Linked DNA regions of Homo sapiens: region 2 is linked to region 1. Evidence: promoter capture Hi-C in 16 types of primary human blood cells and fetal thymus (Javierre and others, 2016). All regions are on one chromosome and are shown on one strand. Each heading gives the region's core, a stretch centred on a gene start or on the middle of the fragment in contact. The rest is flanking DNA. Distances are from core to core; before and after follow the strand shown. Region 1 holds the start of MYO1E (myosin IE). Region 2 overlaps MYO1E (myosin IE).

The links. The method cuts DNA at HindIII sites, captures the fragments that hold promoters and counts their contacts. A CHiCAGO score of 5 or more calls a contact.
Region 2: a contact is called between a fragment that was not itself captured here and the fragment with the promoter of MYO1E in region 1, in 7 of 17 cell types (M2 macrophages, M0 macrophages, endothelial precursors and 4 more). The highest score is 10.5, in M2 macrophages.

The regions. Positions count from the first base shown.
Region 1 is chr15:59,370,917-59,374,440 of GRCh38, forward strand. MYO1E (myosin IE) reads right to left here and starts at 1,955. Exons shown (of 28, transcript NM_004998.4): 1 at 1,582-1,955. The coding sequence starts at 1,584. RefSeq lists a silencer at 900-1,219 and enhancers at 1,235-1,738, 1,739-2,243. The HindIII fragment of the contact is 5,897 bases long and covers 1-2,062 here.
Region 2 is chr15:59,213,024-59,216,547 of GRCh38, forward strand. MYO1E (myosin IE) reads right to left here. Exons shown (of 28, transcript NM_004998.4): 11 at 1,617-1,697; 12 at 1,205-1,291. Among named protein-coding and RNA genes, the nearest start is that of LDHAL6B, 7.9 kb to the left of the region's middle. The HindIII fragment of the contact is 583 bases long and covers 1,384-1,966 here.

The DNA.
Region 1 (3,524 bases), core at 705-3,204:
AAGGGACCAGGTGCCCAGTGAGGTAGCTTCACCCAAACACATGCCCAATGGGAATGGTTCTCTGCTGGGGTGAGGGAAGGGGTCCAAAAGTAACGTAGAGTAGACTGACTTCTTAAACCTTAAAACTAGAAGAGGAAATGTATAGACAAAGTGTTCTCTTAGATGGGGCAAAAGTGACTTAATTTTGGACTATGTAAAAAGAAAAGGCTTTGGCCGAGGATGCCTTGAAAGGTTTCTCGTTGATGTTTGTTTGTAATCATTCTTTGGAATAAACAGCACGGGGCAAGGGGGCTTCTGAGCTTTGTGTGCAGGTTTCGATGGGCCTCTGCTGCACTTCCCTCAGGCTGCTCACCGGGATATCGATTTTTTAATTAGTGTTGTGCTGGTTATCATTTTGACTTGGCTTCTCTTCCACAGCCATTAGAAAACAACAGCAAACCAGAAGAGGACGAGATAATCCACCTAAGCAGGACTACTTGAAAAGAAGCAAGTGTGGAAACTATGAAGCCTTGTAATAGATTTTTTTTTTTTTGATGAACTGCCGATCTCTTCAAAATAGAGTCCTTGCTTTCGTGCCCCGCAAAGAAAAGTACACCACGCCAAAGCCCAAGGGAGGTGGCTAAGGTTATACAGGGAGGGAGGGGAGTGTAGCTGGACTGGGGAGTTGGAATAGCAGAAAAGTCACAAGTCAAAGAGGCGGCCCCTTCCACACATTCCCAAAGTGCCAAAGGGAAAACAGCAACAAACTCGAAACTCGCGAGGGCGTCTTCCCGTGCGAAGCGTCCCCTGGATCCCCGAAAAGCCCCGATCCCCTCGCGCTTGGGAAGGGGTGGGGTCCTCTTCAGGAGGTGTTTACTTGGCGTCCGGGGCGCGGAGACCCTCGGGGCCGGCGCCCGGCACAGGTCCGGGGCGGCGTGGTTGCCGCCCGCGCCCGAGTCTCCCTGGCTCTTGACAGCCCGCCGGCCGCCAGGTGCTCGCCCTACCTGGCGCCCCCGCCTGCCTTTGTGCGGCCCGCGCCGCCCCTCGCCAAGGCGGGCCAGGGACCGCCCCCGCCCGCGTGCCGCTGCCAGGCGGGACAGCTGCGGGCGCTGCCGGGCAGCGGAGCGGCGGCGGGGAGGAGAGGGAGTCGGCGCGAGGGTGCCCGGGGCGGGGCGGGCACGGCCGCGGGGAGGGCAGGGGACGCCGCCAGCGGCTGCGGCGCGAGTCTCCGAGCACCTCCCCTGCCGGCTGCGCCCCCCACGTCCCAGCAGGAGGAGGGGACCCCCTCCCGCGCCGTGCCCCTCGCAGCCGATGCGCCCACACCCTGGCTTCCGACAGCTGGCAGCCATAGCAACCCGGCCACAGAAAGTTTCGCGACGCAGAAACCGACTTGGAATAAAGTTTTCCTTGGCCCCTCGCTCGCTCTCCCCCGGCCCGGGTTTACGGAAAGCGGCAGGAAATCAGAGCTCGCGACGTGCCGGCTCCCGCGTCCACCTTCTCCACCCCTGGCCCCGGCAGCGCGCCCAAGGTGGGTGCACCACGCCGGGGTTTCCTGCCCCGTCCCCGGGTCCGGCGTCCTAGGACGCGGCGCGGCCAACTCACCATGGTGACTCGCGCCGCGGTCGCGTCTTCGCCGGGTCCCGCTGCCGGGGAACTGGGGCTGGAACGCAGTCTTCTGGGCGAACTTCAAAAGTTGGTTCCCCTCGCCAAAAACAGGCTCCCGACACCCAAGCACTCACAGGAGCCAATGGGAACCCAGAGGGGACTCCATCCAGGCGGGATTGGCGGTGCTAGGTGAGGGCGAGACGGCGGCGACTTAGCAGGCGGGGCGCATGCTGCGGAGGGCAAGAGTCCACTCGTACTCGCCGGTCGCCGCCGGCCCAGGTGAGTCCGATGCGCTCGGAGCGTCCGCCTCGCTCCCCTGCCTCACTCCTCTTTCTTCGGCCACTTAATCCGTACTCCTCTGGCTGAGTCTCGGCTCGGGCCGGGCAATCTGTCCATAAATGGAGAACTCAGCTCAGGCCTGACCAATCAGGGTTTGTTTTCGTAGCGTCACTCCTCAGGGAAACCGTAGTAGCCAACAAGCTTGGAGCTGCTGGAGTTTCCAAAGATCTCTGGATCCTGTAGTCCTCCTCCCGCGCCAGCCACCGAAGAACGCTGCGGACCCAGCTCGCTCCTGGTAGCAAGACCCGAACTGTAAGGAACAAAACCCTCGTGAAAGAGGAGCAAACCTTTCACTTCGCTGCGTTTTAAGACGAAAGTTAGGGTGGGTTTCGCTTCCAAGTTGAAGGGGCATGATTTTCCCAGAACTTTTTTTTAAGAAGGAAATATTTTATCAGCATAAAACATCAGAGTCGTGGCAGCAGCCCAAAGGAAATCCTTTTTCTTTCCTACGTCTGGATTGTGAGCAAAGTCAAAAATATCATTTCCCCACCCCTCCTTTTACCTGAATTTCCTTGGAAAACAAAGGAAGACTTCCGGCTGCTTTTTCTTTTCTTTTTTCTGTTTTTCTTTTCTTTCTCTTTCCTTTCTTTCTTGTTTCTTTTTTGCACGTTTTGATGGCAGAAAAGTTGTTGCACGTGCAGTGGGCAGAGGGAAGGAGAGAGGAGAGATAGGTGGGAAGAAACCCCATCCAACCTCAGCCAACACATCTGCTGAAAACAATCAGAACTGTAAAAATGCATTATTCCAGACTGTCGAATATCCAAGGAGAAGATTGGGGTGGGGCGGGGTGGGGGGAAGCAGAATCTTAAAATCAAGGTAGGGAGTTTGATTTTATTGTTCTGGAGGCTGAGGAAGTAAATTTGGTGAGTCTTAACAGGCTGCCTTCCTGGAATCTGTAGAAGATAAAATTGGTAAACTTCAGGGCATAGAGAAACTATGAAGCATAATGATATTATGATACTTTCTGAAATTTGGTTGAGGCAGGGCGCTGTGGCTCACGCCTACAATCCCAGCACTTTGGGAGGCTGAGGTTGGTGGATCACGTGAGGTCAGGAGTTTGAGACCAGCCTGGCCACCAACACGGTGAAACCCCTTCTCTACTAAAAATACAAAAATTAGCCCGGCATGGTTATACATGCCTGTAATCTCAGCTACTCGGGAGGCTGAGGCACGAGAATCGTTTAAACAGGGGAGGCGGAGGTCGCAGGGAGCCGGGATCGTTCCACTCTACTCCAGCCTGGGCGACAGAGCAAGATTCTGTCAAAAAAAAAAAGAAGGAAAGAAAGAAAGAGAGAGAGAGAGAAGAAAGGAAGAAAGGAAAAAGAAATTTGGTTGTAGCTCTTCACTTGACTATCTGAGCATAGAGTTAGAAAGGGTATTAAACTTTATCTTGTCTAAAAGGGTAAACAAAATGTTACAACATGGATGAATCTCGAAAATATCGTGTTAAGCCAGGAGCAAAAGACCACATATTATATAATTCCATTTAAATGAAAGTTGAGGATAGGGAAATCTATAGAGATAAAAAGTAGGTTAGTGGTTTGCTAGGGGCTGGGGGAGAGGGGAGATGGAAGTAATTGCTAACAGGTATGCATTTTCCT
Region 2 (3,524 bases), core at 425-2,924, 160 kb before region 1:
AGAAACTGCTACTGTTTTAAGTCACTCAGTTTGTGGTGCTTTGTTATGGTGGCCCCAGGAATCCTAAACAATATGCTATCAGGAAACAATGGAAACTGCACTGAACTATTTATTTATTATTATTATTATTATTATTATTATTATTATTATTATTATTATTATTTTGAGACGAAGTCTCGCTCTGTCGCCAAGGCTGGAGTGCAGTGGCACGATCTCAGCTCACTGCAACCTCTGCCTCCTGGGTTCAAGCGATTCTCCTGCCTCAGCCCCCTGAGTAGCTGGGTCTACAGGCACACACCATCACGCCCAGCTAATTTTTGTATTTTTAGTAGAGACGGGGTTTCATCATGTTGGCCAGGCTGGTCTCGAATTCCTGACCTCAAGTGATCTGCCCGTCTCGGCCTCCCAAAGTGCAGGGATTACAGGCATGAGCCACTGCGCCTGGCTATTATTTATTTTTGAGATAGAGTCTTGCTCTGTTGCCTAGGATGGAGTGCAGTGGTGTGATGATATAAGCCTCGACCTCCTGGGCTCAAGCAATCCTTTCACCTCAGCCTCCAGAGTAGCTGGGACTATAGGCTTATGCCACCACGTCCAGCTAATTATTTTATTTTTTTTGTATGGATGGGGTCTCATTTTGTCCCGCAGGCTGGTCTTGAACTCCCGGGCTCAAGCAATTCTCCCGACTCGGCCTCCCAAAGTGCTAGGATTACAGGCACGAGCCACAGCACCCAGCCTGCAGTGAACTTTAGAAGAAACTATACCAAGGCATGTTACCTCAGGTAAGTATTCAAATACCAGCTTTGTTAAAAATGCACGTATTGTTAGGGAAGATTGAAAATGGCGTAGATCTGAGGAAACCAAGTCTTTTATTTGGAACACAATATTTGCCACAGACAGTCGGGGCTGGAACTAGGCTCCCATTTCCCACGTGCTCAATGAGTCAGTAGAGTAAAAGCAGCCAGTCTTACCTCCAACATCACAGCATCATTTGCTTAAAGAAGAAGGCAAATGCTGCAGACGGTATTTATATTTCATAGATTAAAATGCCACAATGGCATATGGTTTTTCTGCCTGACTTTATTAGATGCATTTCCTAATATAAGACTGGAACCGAAATCTATTAACAAAAGACAGAAATCTATACCCTCTTAAACAAAATAAATTATAAATAGAATAGGATGAAGGAAGAGGGACTGCTTACCTGTTCTGCCTTTAATGTCAGTTCAATAAAAATCTGCTGCAGTTTTTCATTAACAAAATTGATACAAAACTGTTCAAAGCCATTTTTCTGGAAAAAAAAAGTTATTCACATGTAATTCTTTCACAAAATCATTTAAAAGTCATTTCTGGAGTGATTTATTGAAATGTCTTCATGTGAAAAGCTTTAATAGAAATGTTGGATGCATCAAAAGAAATAAGTTTATATTTAGGAGAAACTAATTTGGTAAAGGCACATGAAGAACTCACAAAGGCAAAAATGAGCCTGAGTTGTTTTTTTTGTTGTTGTGGTTTGTTTTCTGTTTTTTTGTTTTTGCATTGCCTAGAATTATTTCTTGCAGGCCAGATGAAATACGTCACCCTCCTCAACCCCTAGTTATTAAAACTGGCCTTACCTGGAATATTTCAAAGCCATAGATGTCTAGGACGCCAATGTTGTATTCTTCATGGTCTTTCTCCATGGCTTTATTGATGGACTAGAGAAAGTAAACAGCATGGCAGTGAACTCCTTTCCATTCATACTAAAAACGGGCATGCACTGGGGAAAGGGAAGCTGGATTCTACACGGCAAACACTACTGCTTGCAGGAAACAGAGGACAAGTGAAGGCAGGAGACTTGCTGCTTTAACAATCTCTCAGTCCAAAGTCAAGTACTTTGGAAAACCACCAGGATTCAGAAAAGCGAGTACAGTAGAAACAAAAAATGTTTGTTTAATGATGATAACCATTAATTTCTGTCCAAGTAAGCTTTTTCAGGAAGTCTTAACAATTAGAAAAAAATGTCATCTTGGATGATCGAAGTAAAACCTATTTCACACAAAGAACCCACACTAAAGGATCTGTAATTGTCATTTCCAGTGTCTTCCATTCACCAGTCATTTAATGATGACCCAACACAATATGCCAGGGATGCTAAGGACAAGACAACCCTTGTTCCTAGGCGCTTATAGAGAGGGTGAGCTATCTGCAGATAGTAACAATAGTCATTATTTTTGAATTGATAATAGAAGCAGCTTACGTCTATTAAACATTCACCTTTGCCAGGGTTTGCTAAGTGCTCTCAATGTGTTGTTTCACTTAATTCCCATTTCAGTTCTCAAAATGGCAGTGATACCATTATTTTCCCAATTTTCCACATGGATACACCAAGGCTTGCTTAAGGTTGTTCTATGTAAGAAGCAGGGTCTGGGACTAAATTTAAGCAGTATGATGCCTAAATCTGTGTTCTTAATCACCGTGAGAAGAGGCCAAGCAATTCATGGGAACAGATGTAATGACAGCAAGGGAGGTTTGGATAGAGCGGTTGGTGGGGGATGCAGTGGGGGAGGAATGTAAGCGAACAATTCTTTGAGGTGATGAATACCTGGACGAATTCTGAAGTACCAGAGGTGTTTTCCAGGCAAACAAAATGAAATATCATCTTTTGTGAGCGAATGAGTAATCATACACAACACACAGTCAGTGCCCAGTAAATCCCACCTCAAATTAGGATCACTTATATGAGTATTCATGTACTGGTACTATTCACAAAAAAAACTGACAGGTGACAGGTAGAAAGGTAGGTAGGAAGCCCAGCGCTGGAAGGTGCTCTGAACAAAGAGAAAAGAGATATGGATTCTAGTCCCAGGCTGCACCACCCCCTTGCTGACCAGCCTTGGGCAAAACCACCATTGCTCAGGCCTGAAGTTCCCTTCTCAGTAAAATGAGGGGTCTGGACAACCTAACTGCATGACTTCTGTTTAGTATGACCCTGACCTTCCCAAGCAATGTTATCCTTTAAATAGCCACTAAAGTACCTAGAATAGTTCTCCTACCCTGTCCTGCCTGACCCTACTCTAACCACACTAACCATACCTTAAGCCGTATAAATGTTAGTGCCTGGAATCAAATACAGATCTTTTGGATTGAATGGCCCCCACTGTTGTCCCTTGACTAGGGTCCTTCTAGCTTGAATATATAAACGTCAAAGAAACAAACTAGCTAGGAATCTAGGGCCTCCTAGATCACTCACATAATAACAGAGTGACCTTGGGCAAATTCCTTAATCGATCTATGCCTCCCTTAGTTTATCTGTAAAGCAGAGATAATAATACCTAAGTCACAGGGTTGTTGTAAGAATTAAGTGAGGGTTTTTTCTCTTTAAAATACTCAGAACAGTATCTGGGCACTAACATAGTTAGTTCTATATAAGTGCCTGCTATTATTATTTTACCATTTAGAGGCTACAGTGATTAACAGAGATTGTTACTGGCAGCTCTACACTGCTGAAAGACTAATTGTCAGAATATATATGTGATATACAT